2 separate regions of the Homo sapiens genome follow, and region 1 is linked to region 2. The links are contacts of gene promoters, found by promoter capture Hi-C in blood cells and fetal thymus (Javierre and others, 2016). All regions are on one chromosome and are shown on one strand. Each heading gives the region's core, a stretch centred on a gene start or on the middle of the fragment in contact. The rest is flanking DNA. Distances are from core to core; before and after follow the strand shown. Region 1 holds the start of AKAP3 (A-kinase anchoring protein 3). Region 2 holds the start of CRACR2A (calcium release activated channel regulator 2A).

What was found. The method cuts DNA at HindIII sites, captures the fragments that hold promoters and counts their contacts. A CHiCAGO score of 5 or more calls a contact.
Region 1: a contact is called between the fragment with the promoter of AKAP3 here and a fragment that was not itself captured in region 2, in 1 of 17 cell types (total CD4 T cells). The highest score is 5.7, in total CD4 T cells.

Annotation. Positions count from the first base shown.
Region 1 is chr12:4,647,801-4,655,365 of GRCh38, reverse strand. It overlaps AKAP3 (A-kinase anchoring protein 3), which reads left to right and starts at 6,315. Exons shown (of 6, transcript NM_001278309.2): 1 at 6,315-6,621. It overlaps NDUFA9 (NADH:ubiquinone oxidoreductase subunit A9), which reads right to left and starts at 6,252. Exons shown (of 11, transcript NM_005002.5): 1 at 6,191-6,252; 2 at 904-1,074; 3 at 444-541. The coding sequence starts at 6,239. RefSeq lists enhancers at 5,827-6,482, 6,351-6,560, 6,841-6,890. The HindIII fragment of the contact is 2,310 bases long and covers 5,275-7,565 here.
Region 2 is chr12:3,748,725-3,755,622 of GRCh38, reverse strand. CRACR2A (calcium release activated channel regulator 2A) reads left to right here and starts at 2,514. Exons shown (of 20, transcript NM_001144958.2): 1 at 2,514-2,608. RefSeq lists a silencer at 2,280-2,779. The HindIII fragment of the contact is 9,621 bases long and covers 1-6,898 here.

The DNA of each region.
Region 1 (7,565 bases), core at 5,066-7,565, 900 kb before region 2:
GTGGCCAGTGGCTACCACACTGGACAGCACAGGTCTAGAGCAGGGATTGATAAACTATAGTCCATAGGCCAAATTCAGCCTGCAGCCTCATTTTGTAAATAAAATTTTACTGAAATGCAGCCATGCCCATTTGTGTACATATTGTCTATGGCTACTTCCAGTTACAAGGGCAGAGCTGAGTAATTATGACAAAGACTCTACGACCTGCAAAGCCAGAAGTATTTACTCTCTGTCCCTTCAAAGAAAAAGTTTGCCAACTGCCAATCTAGAGCTTGCATGACAAAGGAGATGCCGGAACCTAGCTGAAAGAATGACCTGGGAACAGAGGATGCCTTTGGTCCATTCTGGGAAGAAATTACTGCTTTATTATACTGCCTATCACTCCTAAAAATGACCTTAGTAATTTATATTTGTCAACTTCATTCAGTCATAAAGGCCCTTACCAGAAACAGAAGCTGGCCCAGGTCACCCATGGGACGAAGGTGCATGATGTCATATTTATCACACCGATAGGGTATGATTACCTGTGACCCCATGCGTCCTAAAAGAGAATGGATTGAAAAAAGGATCAACATTAACATAATGTGGATATATTATACAATTGTGACTTGGTAAATATTTAAATTCTAGTATGGTATGTGAATTGATATTATATTTGACAAAAAGAATATTTTGCCATGCTAAAGATGCCATAGCTTTTCAGAGTCCCTTATTCCTATCCTAATAATTCCTATATAGGAGCATGAGTGTGCTCTTCATGTCACAACAAATAAAAATTACATACATCCAAGACAGGAGTAATTCATAATACTGTTAAAATGAAGAGAAACATAGCTCATGCTTCTCATCAGGCAATCCTGATCAATGGCAATGGAGCATATGAACTTAAGGAACTTTACTTACCAAGGTGGTTGACAACATATCGCCCCAGGAATCCTGTTGCTCCAAACACAGTGGCCACAATCCCACTGACTGAGGAACGTCCACCTTTCCCATGAGGCATGAGGGCATGATGAAGCTGGCGACAGGGTGGGCCGTGACACACAGATGTGGCTATTGCAGTAATGGCAGAACCTTAAACAAAACCCCAAAGTATACAAGCATGGCAAATATTAATATTTTTAAAACTGTCAACACAAATAGCTCCTTTCTCTAAAAACTTGTAACATTATTTTGCAATCAGTACTTTAGCAATTTAAGTATCAAGGGCAATAATAAACACAAACTACTACGACACAGAATCCAGAGGACATGAGGAAATATACTCCCTACCCTATACAATGTAACTTACCTAAGAAGATAAGTCACATTTTTTAAAAAACATATTAAACAGTCACAAAGTAGGAAAGCATAAGCCTATACGGTAAAAGGAACTGAGAATATGTAATAAATGAGCAATAAATCACATTACCATGAGGAAGTATTCCTGGATAAAATGTTTTGAGAAAGGTCTTAAAAGAGGAAAAAAAAAAGAAAGGACAGAATCCCATGAGGAACACATCACAATGCAGAGGTAGAATGAATAAGCCTACAGCACAGGGCAACAGCAAAAGACTCTCCTGGAACAGAATCTGAAACTGGTGACTAATGAAAAATAAGGTTGATGATACTGGTCGGAAGCAGATGATTATTAGTACAGAACATTAAAAAAAAAAAAAAAGAATGCAGTTCAATAGTTCAGACTTACTATAAAACCACTGAAGAACATCACAAATAATGATAAAAGGAGTGAAGTGCTTGAGAAAAGATATTCTGACTTTTAGAAAGTTTAACAGCAAGAGACTTGTCAAACATTCCACCATTTCTTTTTCATTGACTGAGGTTCTTGGTACTAGAATGAACCCTCAAAGTTCATGTACCAATGCTTACATCTTCTCTACAGCATGTGTGCAAAGAAATCATCTGGCTTTTGCCTGAACACCTGTGGAGTTGGGAAACTCACTACTTCCTGTAGCTGCCCATTCTGCTTTGAGCCATTCTAACAGAAAGAAAGTTCTACCACAAGGGGAATCAGTGACTGCTTCCCAGAAGTTTTTATCCCTGTGTTCCTCCAGAATGACAAAGAACAAGTCTAATCCCTCTTCTACAATTAAGTGTAGCAATTATAGCCCCACTAAATATTTTCTTCTCCAGGTTAAACATTCCCTGTCCTGTCAAATATTCTTCATATGGCAGGAATGAGAATCTCTTTTGGATACATTCCAGTTTTCAAGTTATTGCTAACTCCTTAGAATAGAATTTTAGAGTTAGCTGCTCAACTTTCATGTAAGTAGAAACAAAAAGGTTTAAAGTGCTAACGCACTTCTGCTCCAATCAACAAACTTCGGAGCTTAGCATTCGTGCTTTGTACACTTGGGAGAGGTGAAAGACACAAACAGGACTTTCTTTAGAAAATCTGTGTTTGTTTCTAGGGATGACTTTCAGGTGGCATTCTGCCCAAAGGTCATTGTTCTTCCCTATCCAAAAGTATTGAATTGGAGAAATAGCCTAGCTCACTGATAGTGACAGAAATTAAAAGTAAACATCATGGACCACACATCATAATAACAAAATAATAACATCATATTAACAGCTACCTTTACAGAGCTCTTGGCAGGTGTCCAGCATTATTCTAAGTGCTGCATAGGTATTATCTTTTTTAATGCTATCTTTATCACCACTTTATGGATAAGGTTAGTGACTAGCCCAAAGCACTAGTAAAGGAGATTAAAAAGCAGTCCCATGAGGTAGGAGAAAAACTCAGAAGGAAACAGAATCTAAAAACCCAAAATAAGAAACTGTTTCAAGGAGAGAATGGTTAACTTTACCAAATGCTGAAAGTGAAGTAGGAAGAGGACAGAGGACCACAGAAGCTGGAGGATGTGGCTGTAGGTGGCATAAATAAGAGCAATTTTATTGGATTAGTGGGACTGAAAGCCAGACTGGAGCAAACAAGAGAGGCTGTGAGGCAAGGAAGTAGATGAGGAGTATACACAATCCTTCTGAAAAAGGAGAAATGGAACTAGAGAAAACAAGGACAGGAATAGGTTTGTTTGTTTGTTTTAAATATGAGTTAACATTTATGTGCTGATGGAAATGACATGATTTCCATGGTAGAGGTAGAAAATTACTGATTCAGGAAAGGGAATGAATAGTTGAGAGAGGATAAGATTGAATGCAAAGTGAAGGAACTGGCCACAGATTGGAACAGAAGGAGCTCACCCACTGTAACAAGAGAAAAGGCAAAGAATTATCACATATCAACTATTAGAGTTTATGGTGGGAAAATGACTGTTCTCATCTGATTCCTTTGATTTCTCTGTAAAGCTGAGAATGAGACAAAAGCACATGTTAGAGGTTTTAGGAAACTCGCTATGTTAAGTAATGATTATGGAGACAAGGAAACCAAATTTCCTAGAAAAATGTAGCACTGAAAATCTACTTGAGATTTGTATTCATGAATTTAAAATAAGGCCAGTTAGTCTGAAGTTTTCCCTAGCCCCGTTCTCCATTGCTCAGTGGCAGGCAGCAAATTACGTGGAAAGTTTTGTTTAATCAGGGTCAATGTTTTTTACGACAATGGGAGTTGGGCTGGGGAGTTGAGGATGCATAAAAGGGAATGATAAGAGTGAAGAGTAAGGAAATGAGGACATAGGATAAGACAGGCAAAAGATGGCAGAGTCAATGAACTGGGAAGAATTACTTGAGTTGAGGAATTAATACCTCAAAGGACTGTTAAGAGGATTAAACATACATAAACCACGTAGCACATTACCTAGAGCACATTAAGCATTCTATGAATAATAGTTGCTTTTATTACTTTGAAATTTCTCAGAAGGTAATGTCACACTAACCTCACATGGCTATTGTTTTTTTTTAATAATTATGGGCCAAGAATTATTCTAGAAACTGTGACTATCACAGTAAAATACAAAACCCTGGCTTCATGAAGCTCACAGTTTAAAGGGTTAATGAGAATAACATATGGGCAAGCATCTGTCACAGTGCCTTGCAAATACTAGGTGCTCAATAAATATAAATTATTACTCTCTTTGGTTCCAGCCTCTCCACTTTCTTCCATTTATTATGAGTACTATTAGAAGAATGATATTCTTTATTAATTATATATTCATTATATTTCTCTGCTTAAAAACCTACATTAGTTTCCTACTGCAATACCCAAACCAATAGTCCAGACATATTTGCTTGCACACTGCATTAATTTTTTTAAGTATTTATTTAAAAAATTATATGCACGTTCTATGTAGTACCAATATGATATACACATTATAAATCATACATTACTTAGAATAGTGTGTGGCATACAGTTTAAACTACATAAGTGTTAGCTATTATTACTATAGAAAGCAATTTTTAGGAGTTCTAATTTATATTTCCACAACTTATTAGGTCCTCTTGCACAACTCCCTTTGGAGACTACCGATCTAAACTCTGCTTGGCTTTCAAAGGTCTCCATTGTCTGATCCCATCTAACACATTCAACCTCCTTTTCCACTATCCCAGATATTCAGGTAGTCATTTCACTGCCTCTTGAATACCTCATGACTCCATTCTCACCCACTTGTCTTTGCCAGAGGACTTTCCAGATCATAACAGCCCTAAAGAGACCAGTGGGAGCACTACAATTCTCCACTGGTCTTCCAATCATCCCTCAGTACCTCAAATGATACTAATCTTTCCCTTTTATGATTTCCTGTGATACTTAATAGTCTTGCCACACTTAACTATATATAGTTGTCTTACACAGTTCTGTCCTATAGTGTGTGGATTATGTTACATACTAGACTTGCCTCTACAGAATTTACTCAAAAACTTACTTTACCAGACAATAACGCAGAGTGGTTAAGAACACAAGCTATGGTGTCAGTCAGAGGAAAGTAAGTTAAAAGAGGAAAATTAATAAAAATACCTAGAACTGGAGATTGCAGATAGCAGGTACTCAATAAATAGTGATTACCATTCACAATCTACATTACGTCATACAATTGTAATAGTTTAACAAGAACCAGCAAATGTCTTTGCAAAGACATTGTGACTACAAAACCATCCACTATAAGTGATGTGCACCACCACCTTCCCAGTGGTATGCAGGAGTTCTACCCAAGATGGAAAACAAAAAAAAAAGGATCCTCTAAACACTCCTAATTCTTGCCTCAGGCTGAACATCAAGCCTATCTGTGGTGCTTTTAAAAATTTAAGGTGCAAGGAGCTAATCTCACAAATTCTGACTCAATAGCTCTACACTCAGTCCTCATTTCTAATTTTTATAAAGCTTTACGAGTGATTCTGACATGAGCCAATTTTGAAAGCAAATGATATTCTGTAACGACTAAAATACACTAAGAAAAATACAACTTTGGGGGTTTGATTGGAATATGTTTGTGGAAGAGTAGAGGGTGAAAGGACAATGATGAAGTGTAACCGTATTTCTAATTTCCTTGCTTTTTAGTGAGTGGAAGGACAAATGTATGTTTTCAGTTTGAGGAGTGGGAGCAGATCCAATCAGAACAGAAGAGAAACTAAATAATGCTAACAAATTCTAACATAGCCTTCATTCTTCACTTTCCTTTCCACCAAGCTCCTGATTCTTCTCTCCTCAAACATCACTCTCTCCCCCAGACCCCAACGCACTTTGCCGAACACATTCTACATCCGTAGAGACGCTTTTGGGTAAAAGGATGCTTTTACAAATATTAGCTCATTTAATCTTATCAGAGACTCCCTGGTATTGTAATATTATCATTTCCATTGTGCTCATATGAATTGAGACCCATTAAGGGTTTGCACAAGGTCATAAAATCAATCTAAGAAAACCTCTCGCCACTAGCCTTTTTTCCCTCCCTTACACATTTCTCCCCCCGCCCCATACAAATATTTCTCATAACCCTAAACCCTTACAACCATATCAGAATTCTGATTCTCTCGATCCCTAACGTGTCCCCCGCATTCTCCTCTTCGCTTACAGCTGCTTAAGATCTTTTGTCCCCTCCCAAGGTGGTGCACAATTGAATATGTGAGCCGGGGAAGCGGAAAGCGAAAGGAGAAACCAGACTGAGGCAGCTCCAAACCTAGAGAAACCAGAGTGTGCCTAGGAAGTTGGCGTGACCGCTGCAGCACGGTGCCACTTCCAAAACCTTAAATCCCCGTCTCGGAATCCCGACCAGGGGCCGCCGTTCCCGGTAACACTTACGTGACATTGACAGGACCCGGACAACCCGGGATTGTGCGGCAGCCGCCATCTTTTCCCACAATCCCCCACGACAGCACTCCCGGCTGACTACGGCTGCTAAGCTGGGTCAAAACTTACCTTTCTCGCCTGTCTGCGCAAGCGCTAACCAAGAAACGACGGTTTCGGGTAGATTGTTGGTTAAGAAGAAAGCTGGGAAAGTGAAGGAGAGGGGGAAGAAAGGAAGTGAAAAGACTTTGGCTGTTGGAATCTCAGATCTGGAATAGGCTGTATAGGCTATTTATAATCTCTAATTGCCGAGGAACCTGAAGTTCAGAGTTAACCAGTGACTGACTCAGGACATGCAAAATGGCAAGACCCGAGGTAGAAGAGCTCACCTTTCCTGACTCTCAGTTTCCTGTTCCCTGAAAATGTAAGCTAAGCTGGCAGCCCTGGTGAGTCCGGAGGAAGAAGGAGGCGTAGCCCTCCGCGCTCAGGAGATCCAGGGCCCAGGAGAGAGAAAAGGGGGGACAAGAACGAGGGGAAAAGTGGAGAAGAGAAACCAAAATAGGGTGTGTCCCAAGTAAATAAATGTGCGTCGAGCCCGCCAAGCACATTCTCTCATAGGGACCCTTGCGCCTGCTGTTCGCGTTTCCTGGAATGCACACTCAGGTGTCTGCACCAGCTCAAGTCTCTGCTCAAAAGTGACCTCTTCGGATAAAACTTCTCTGACCATCCTATCCAAGGTGGTAATTATTCCACCAATTTTTGGTTTAAGTTTATATACCAAAGCACTTATCACCAACTAGCATATGAATCTAGGAGTTCTTAACCAGAAGTGTGATTCATGAGTGGGCTTCGGGAAATCTGTGAACTTCCTGAAATATTATGCAAATTTAGTGGCCATGTGTGCCATCTGAACATCTGTCTAAGGAGAAACTGCAGATGGCTCTCTCTAGCGCAATGGCTTGTAATTTTTTCTTTAACTGTGGTCACCTTTGAGAATCTGCATTGTTCTACAAAGAGCCATCTAGAAACTGAGGAAATTCCAGGTTAGACTAAGCGCTTGGATTTTAAAATACTTTATTCTGGTCAACCTCTCCAGATTGCTGGGTAGGAGATGGCAACCAGTGATCCTGTGAAACATACCTTAGGCTTATCAGAAAACCACCTAGTTTGGGGAGGGCGGGTTCTTTCTAGACTTGGTAATCCTTCCAGTGCTTTGTTTTTTCAGGAAAAGTATGTGTTTCTGGGATAGACAAAAAGGCCTGTGATGAGTAGGGATGTAGAAGTTGCTTATTACTAGGCTTGAAATCTTGGCTGTTTCCACTCTATCTTGCCCCTACTGTTTACTGAAGTGTCGCCTAACAAATTGAATTGGAAGAGAGAAAAAAACCTT
Region 2 (6,898 bases), core at 1,280-3,779:
GTGAGGGATCTAGTTTGCACACTCCTTATGAGAATCTAACTAATGCCTGATGATCTGAGGTGGAACAGTTTTATCCTGAAACCATTCCCACCCCCCACTCCCACCCCTGGTCCATGGAAAAATTGTCTTCCACGAAACAGGTTCCTGGTTCCAAAAAGGTTGGGGACCTCTGGCCTATGTGACTTCATAGGTCATATGCCCAGGAAGCCAGCCTTGCCTCGGTCTTATTCGTCACCTAGAGAGAGCTCAATAAATCCTCATTGAATAAACGAGTTTGGGTTTCTCCTGCAACACTGAATCATGTAATCATGGGGAAAGAGGAGGTGGAGATCCTCATCCTTCCCATGGTCCAGGCTAGCTCCATAGCCTGGGGCCAATCAGTGAGTATCAACTGTGCCTCAGTTTCCTACATCCATACATTGGAAGAACCATCTTTTCCCTGTCGCTTTTCTGCCACGGGCCAAGAGTAAAAGAGGCACGAATGTACAAGCTGAACTTGCAGCAGTTAATGTGATGGCTCTGTGATTCTGAAGGGCACCATGAGGCGTGGTGTTCTGTTAAAGAAAACGCCAGCAAATTAGAGACATCCCCATAGAAGCCAGAAGATGTGGTTAATGTTTGCAACATGAAATGTCTAGGTGTTCTGAGGTGGGCTAAAGGACAGTTGCTTTTCTTCCCTATTAAATAGGTGGTTAGACTCAGACACAAGGGAACAGGAAGCAGAATGGCATCAGAGACAAAGATGACTGCATGGAGTTTGGTGAGAAACCATCCTCAAAGCAGCAATTTTTTGGATGAGTCTCAGCCTTTCTGAGCCTCTGTTATTCCAACTGTGAAGTGATACAATTAACAATAACAAAAATTTGATAAGAGCAAATACATTTGGCATTTTTAATGAACCTACTACTATTCTAAGCCCTTTAAAGATACACATTTATTTCGATTCATAGAACACCCCATGATGCAGGAGCTGTTACTATCCACATTGTACTGATGGAGAAAGTTCCAGTAACTTGCCAAGGACGTAGCTGGCAAGTTGGAGCACTGAGATTCAAACCCAGGGCTTTGGCCTCCAGAGTCTGTGCACTAACCACTGTAATACCTCTGAGACTGTAAGGGGCAAATGAATGACAACGCATTGATTTAGAAGTGAAAGGCGATCTAAACGTGCAAGTATTAACACTATTAAAAACAACAATAACAATGGTAGGTACCTCCGATGCCTCTGACCTTATCTCTCTGGTCACAGTTTTCTGCTCTGTAAAATGGGTGGGCAGGCTTTACACTGGATAATCTCTGAGGCCCCTTCCACTTCTCAGATTCTGATAATGAAATGTCCTTCTTTCCTCACATAAGGCTGAGAGAAGGTCAAGCCACCAGCTTGCAGACCTTGGGAGTTGACACAGGGAAGCATACCCAGGACAGAGCCAGAAAAGCCAAGGCACGCAGTAGGGACACACCAGAGGGCAGGCCTCAGAGCCCCTGACAGCCTTCTGAAACTCTGGCAGGGTGGAGGGAGGTTGTGGGCTAGTGGCTGGCTGGGCTGCAAGGAGAAGAAAGGACTCCACAGAGTAATTTATAACAGCTGCTCAGTAAGTGCTAATTTGTTTCTCTCCACCTTGGAATAGGACTTAGCGCGTGTGAGAGGGGGATGCTACTACATAAACCAGTACCAGAAAGATGGGCTTGCCAGGAAAGAACTGGGGCACTCTGCAGGGGCAGTGTCTGGGGAAGGGTTCTCCAAAAAGGTGACATTTCAGAGGGGCCTGGATGGATGAGTAGGATTTCAACAGGCAGAGATGAAAGGGGAGGGTGTTCCAGGCAAAAAGAAGAACTCCCAGCAGCCATGAAGAACAGCTGGTGTTTGGCAACAGCTAGTGTGTCCAGAGCGAAAGTGTTGTGTGTGTGTGAGGGAGAGAGGGTGAGGCTGGAAAATTAGGTTGTGGCCGGAGAGGGCAGGGTGGGCCTTGCCTTGTGCGCTAAGCTGAGGGGTTATCCTGCAGCCGGAGCACCTCGGGAGGCCTTTGAAGATTTACTCAGTGCTTTATTAACAAATACGTATTGGGTTTTTGGTGTTTTGTTTTGTTTTTAACGATTCATGCCCACAGTAGAATATATAGAAGAGTCAGAAAAGTATAAAGAATAAGGATCCCCTTTAGTTTCTGCTCCCAGAGGTAACAGCCGGAGTGACGCCGGGCTGCTGCCGGGTTTTCGGGGGTGCACTCCCAGACACCACCTCTCCAGTGAGCCAGCGAGGGCCGGACTGATGCCCCACCTTGGGAGCCTGAATCGGGGCAAGGGGCCTAGGGAGCAGCGGGACCCCGGAAGCCCGACCAGTCAGGCCGGCTAAGTCGGCAGCCGCCCCGCCCTCGCCACCCAGCCTCCCTGGCGGCCTCAGGTCGCGCCTGCAGGCCCGGACCCCACCGCTTGGCGCGCGCACGTCCCGGAGGGCGTCCAGGGGGCGCCGCTTCCCGTTCAGCTCCGCTGAGGGGCTGGTCCAGCCCGCGCGGCTCGGAGCGGAAAGAGTCGGGCGGAGCAGGCGGCTGCTTGACAGCTGAGAGCCGAGCGGGCGGCGCGGGCAGGTCCACGGGAAGCCTACACGCCCAAGGTAACGTGGAGGAAGGTTGAGGGTGGGCGGCCGGGGCGGCCGGGGGGCGGCGCTTCCTGCCTGCTCCTCCGGCTGCGAAGTGTGAGCGCGTGTCTGCCGCACATGGAACTCGCAGAGGGCCTGGATGGAGGCTGTGTGCCCTTGGGGGGGAACAGCTGGCTCCCCTGCCACCCCCAGGCCTGGCCTGGCCCTTGCTCCCCTCCCTGTCACTCGGTAACGGGACTGGAGGAGAGCCGAGAAGCACTAGGGTTTTGGTCAGGAAAGGACCTTAGGAACCCTCCAGCCTCATCCAGCCTCTTCATTTCACAGATGAGGAAACTGAGGCTCAGAATGGTAAAGTGACTTGCCCAAGGTCTCAAGTCTAAGAACCAAAACTCCTACCTTGCAGGTCAGTGCTACTAGGAGCCCTGGCCACGCAGGCAGCATCCACAACTGTTGCCATGCCGAGAAACAAAGAACCGAGACAGACAGTCAGAAAGACACAGAGAGAGAACCTCCCAGAGCAAAGGAAGGAGGTCAGGAAGTGGGCGGCTGCTGGGGCTTGGCTTCCGCCCTGGCCCCCGCGTGTGCTGGCCTGGCTGTGTGGCTCAGAGGCGTTGTGCTGACTCTGTCCGTGTGTGTGTGTGTCCGTGTGTGTGTGTGTCTGTGTGTGTGTGTCCGTGTGTGTGTGTGTGTGTCCGTGTGTGTGCGAGTGTGTGTCTGTGCACCCATGCATGCACGGGATGCAGCGAATGTACCCTGCCACGTGGGAAAGCCCTCTGAGTTCATTTATCTGTTTACACAGTGTGCTTAGGAACCTGCCCTGTTTGGCTCTGTGGAGGACACCAGGAGTCTCAAAGGAATTCGTTCTGTGTGACTCAAGAGGACAGAAAGAGCCAATCCGTGGGAGTCCCCAGGGTGGTCAGAGGGTCAGGAGGAAGAACCTAACTCATGAGGTGATGGGTTCCTTGTCTCTGGAAGAAAGCAGCATGTACCGAAGAGTCTTTTTATCAAGGATGTGGGCATAGGGATATGAAATCAGAGCAGTTTGCTCCACGTGGAATCAGCATTTTTGTTGAAGGGTCCAGAGTTCATGCCCCTTTTCAGGTGAAATGAATATGTACAACCTCATGGTTTAGTATTTGCCCATAAGAGCTACTTCATGCGCAGTTTTTAAGTGATAAGTGAGAGGCTTCAGGTATGGCTTCCGAGGTCCTGTCACCTCTCGGTTCTATAAGTGAGAGGCTTCAGGTACGGCTTCCGAGGTCCTGTCACCTCTCGGTTCTATACTATAAAGTGTGTAGAGGGAGTTTGGAGGAGGGAGGTTACTTCTGGAAGGAGTGACTCGCAGAGGGCGTCCTGGATGTGGCACTGAGGCCGGGCCTTGAATAGGAGGCTGGGTCTGGGCATCTTGGGGAAGGACGGCTGAGCAAAGCCGTGAAGGTGGGTTGTACCTGAGGAGCAAGGAGTAATGTAGTGGACAATCCGGTGAGGAGTGCTGCCTGGGAGAGATGGCAGAGGCTTGGAGTGTTACGAGTCTAGAAACTTCATTATTAAGCCTAGGGATATTTTGATGGTTTCTAAGAAGGGAAGTGTTGTTCCTGGAGCTGGGTTCAGAAGAACATGTCATCTGCACCTGGGTATGGGATGTACTGCAGTGGAGGAAGCTGTGGGAAGAGAACCTGGGAAGAAGCCCATTGCAGTCACCATGAGGGGTTGAACAGGGCTGGTGGGAATGGACAGGAAGGGGCTAAAAGGCTTGGGGGTAGGGGAAAAGTCATCTGCCATGTGCCAGGGCCTGTGGTAGGAGATTTTCATGTTTAATCTCATTTAATCCTCCTGACAACCTCATGAGGAGATTGCTATGATTGTTCCATATTGTAGAGGAGGAAACTGAGAGAGAGGTTAGGTGGTTTATCCAAGGTCATACAGAAAATAAGTGGTGGGATGGGGATTTTAACCCAGAGAACAATGGAGTAGATGCAATCTGGTAACTGAATAAATGTCAGGGACCAGAGCAGAAGAGACCAAGATGATGGCGATTTGGATTCCAGAGTTAGAGTGGCTGGTGATGCCACTGACAGAGATGGAACCCCAGGTGTGGGGGGTGATTGGAGATGCGTCACGCTGTGGTGAGCCTGCAGAAGGCAGGCCCCAGCACTGGGGCAGTGGCCGCAGTAGCCATCCATTCTGCCTTGGGGCTCCTTGTTGCAATGGTTTGCTGAACCTGTTGTGGGGAGGGAGGGTTGAATCTGCAGGCTGCCTGGGTACTGGCAATGCAGCTGAGAGAAGCTAGGGGAGAGCTAGTGAGGGATTCCTCAGGGACAGGCTAATCACCCACTGAGTTCACATCTCTCTCTTGCTTTTCTTCCACACAAAATAGTGTCTATTTTGTTGCAATGCACAGAGGACTCAGGCACTTGCCATGATACCTTAGGTGAGAATTAGTTCAGATTTTATATTTTCCAAGGCCCTGTTTCCCTCGTATGTTTCCCCTAGAGAAGAGCTAAAAGATGTAATTGCCAAATATTGCAGAATATTGCAGAATTCAGGATCTTAAGAGCAGGTCCACGGCCTCTTACAATGTCATAGAATCACGGTGTTCTAGAGACAAGTCTGCCCTATTTTACGGATGGAGAAACTGAGTCTTTGCGAAATCATGGTCCTTTGTCAGCTGTTAGTGAGTGGCAGAAATGGGTCCAGGCCCTTGGGCTCCAGAGGTTTTGCTTTCTGCACTGACACACATGGAGGCCGCTGTCTTGCAGAGGAGCCTCCAGGGTTTCCTGTAAAATAGCCCTGGGGGCCAGGCTTGGTGGCTCACACCTGTAATCCCAGCACTTTGGAAGCTGAGGCGGGTGGATCACCTGAGGTCAGAAGTTCGAGACCAGCCTGGCCAACGTGGCAAAACCTCATTTCTACTAAAAATACAGAAATTAGCTGGGCTTGGTGGCAGGCACCTGTAATCCCAGCTATTCAGGAGGCCAAGCAGGAGAATTGGTTGAACCCGGGAGGCGGTGTTTGCAGTGAGCTGAGATTGCGCCATTGCACTCCAGCCTGAGTGACAAGAGCGATACTCCGTCTCAAAAAATAAAAATAAAAAATAAAAAAAATAGCCCTGGGGACAGTTCTATAGACAGGTCTAGCATTCAATGGACCATTTCAAACTGGTACACTTTTTGTTCCTACCAACACAACACACACACACACACACACACACACACACACACACACACACACACAAAGAAACAGCAACAACAACAACAACAAAAACCAGCACATTGTTCCACTCATCCATCTATTGGTCATTTCTTTGCCTTTTCAAATCGCTTCCTTTCCTCTGAGAGAAATTTGATAAGGCACAGTTTAGTTAGAGCCATAAAGGGTTCCGTCCAAGTACAGGGTCAGGGGGAAGTCCCAATAAAGCCAGACGGTACCTGTGTGCACCAGCAGAATCCTAAGGCACGGACAGGGAAGCAGGAAAGGAGAGGATGGCTGTAAGGATCAAGGAAGGAGAAGAGACAAAGTGCAGAGAAGAAGGAAAAGAGGAAGAGCTGAGTTTGTGGAGCAGACAGCTCAGTGGCATGGGCAGAACCTACTTTGGGGACCTATATTTTGGGAACCTGGCTCCCCAGTACTCAGAGGCAGCATGAAGCAGGGAGATAACCAGGTGGACATGAAGAAGCCAAAGGGAGTCACTCTTATAATACATCATCCAACCTCGGGCACTGCCGGGAGTGAAAGGGGGAATATTCATAGCAATGCTGGGACCACAAGCATAGCCAGGATGTTCCAGGCAAACTGGTCACCTTCACAAGAGCAATGCAAAGAAAGTGCCAGGCATGGCCCAAGGGCTGTCCATGTATTCCCTTATGGAAGCCTCACTACAACCCAATTGGCTAGGCACTGCCATCATGCCCATTTTATAGAAAAGTTAACTGAGGAAGAGAGAGGCACAGTATCATGTCTATGGTCACACAGCCGATACACGGTAGAGGCAGGATTTGAACTCAGGCAGCTTGGCTATTTCAGAGCCTGCACTGTAAGCGTTATGCTCCATTGGCTCTCTACTCACCAACAGCATCCACACAAAGACACCCCCTTCCCCTCACAGGACTCAGGAGAGGGACCTTTGGGGTCTGTTTTCCCTCACAGCTGCTCCAACTGGTCAAGTTAGCATGACGTCATCCGGATGACATAAACAAATTTGCAGTCAGGCTGAGGTGAGGGGGAGGACAACCCTCAGTCAGGTTTGTCCTCTACAGGCTCCACACCTTGTACACAGTGCTGAGTCTTGGCCTCAGGTGTTGGAGT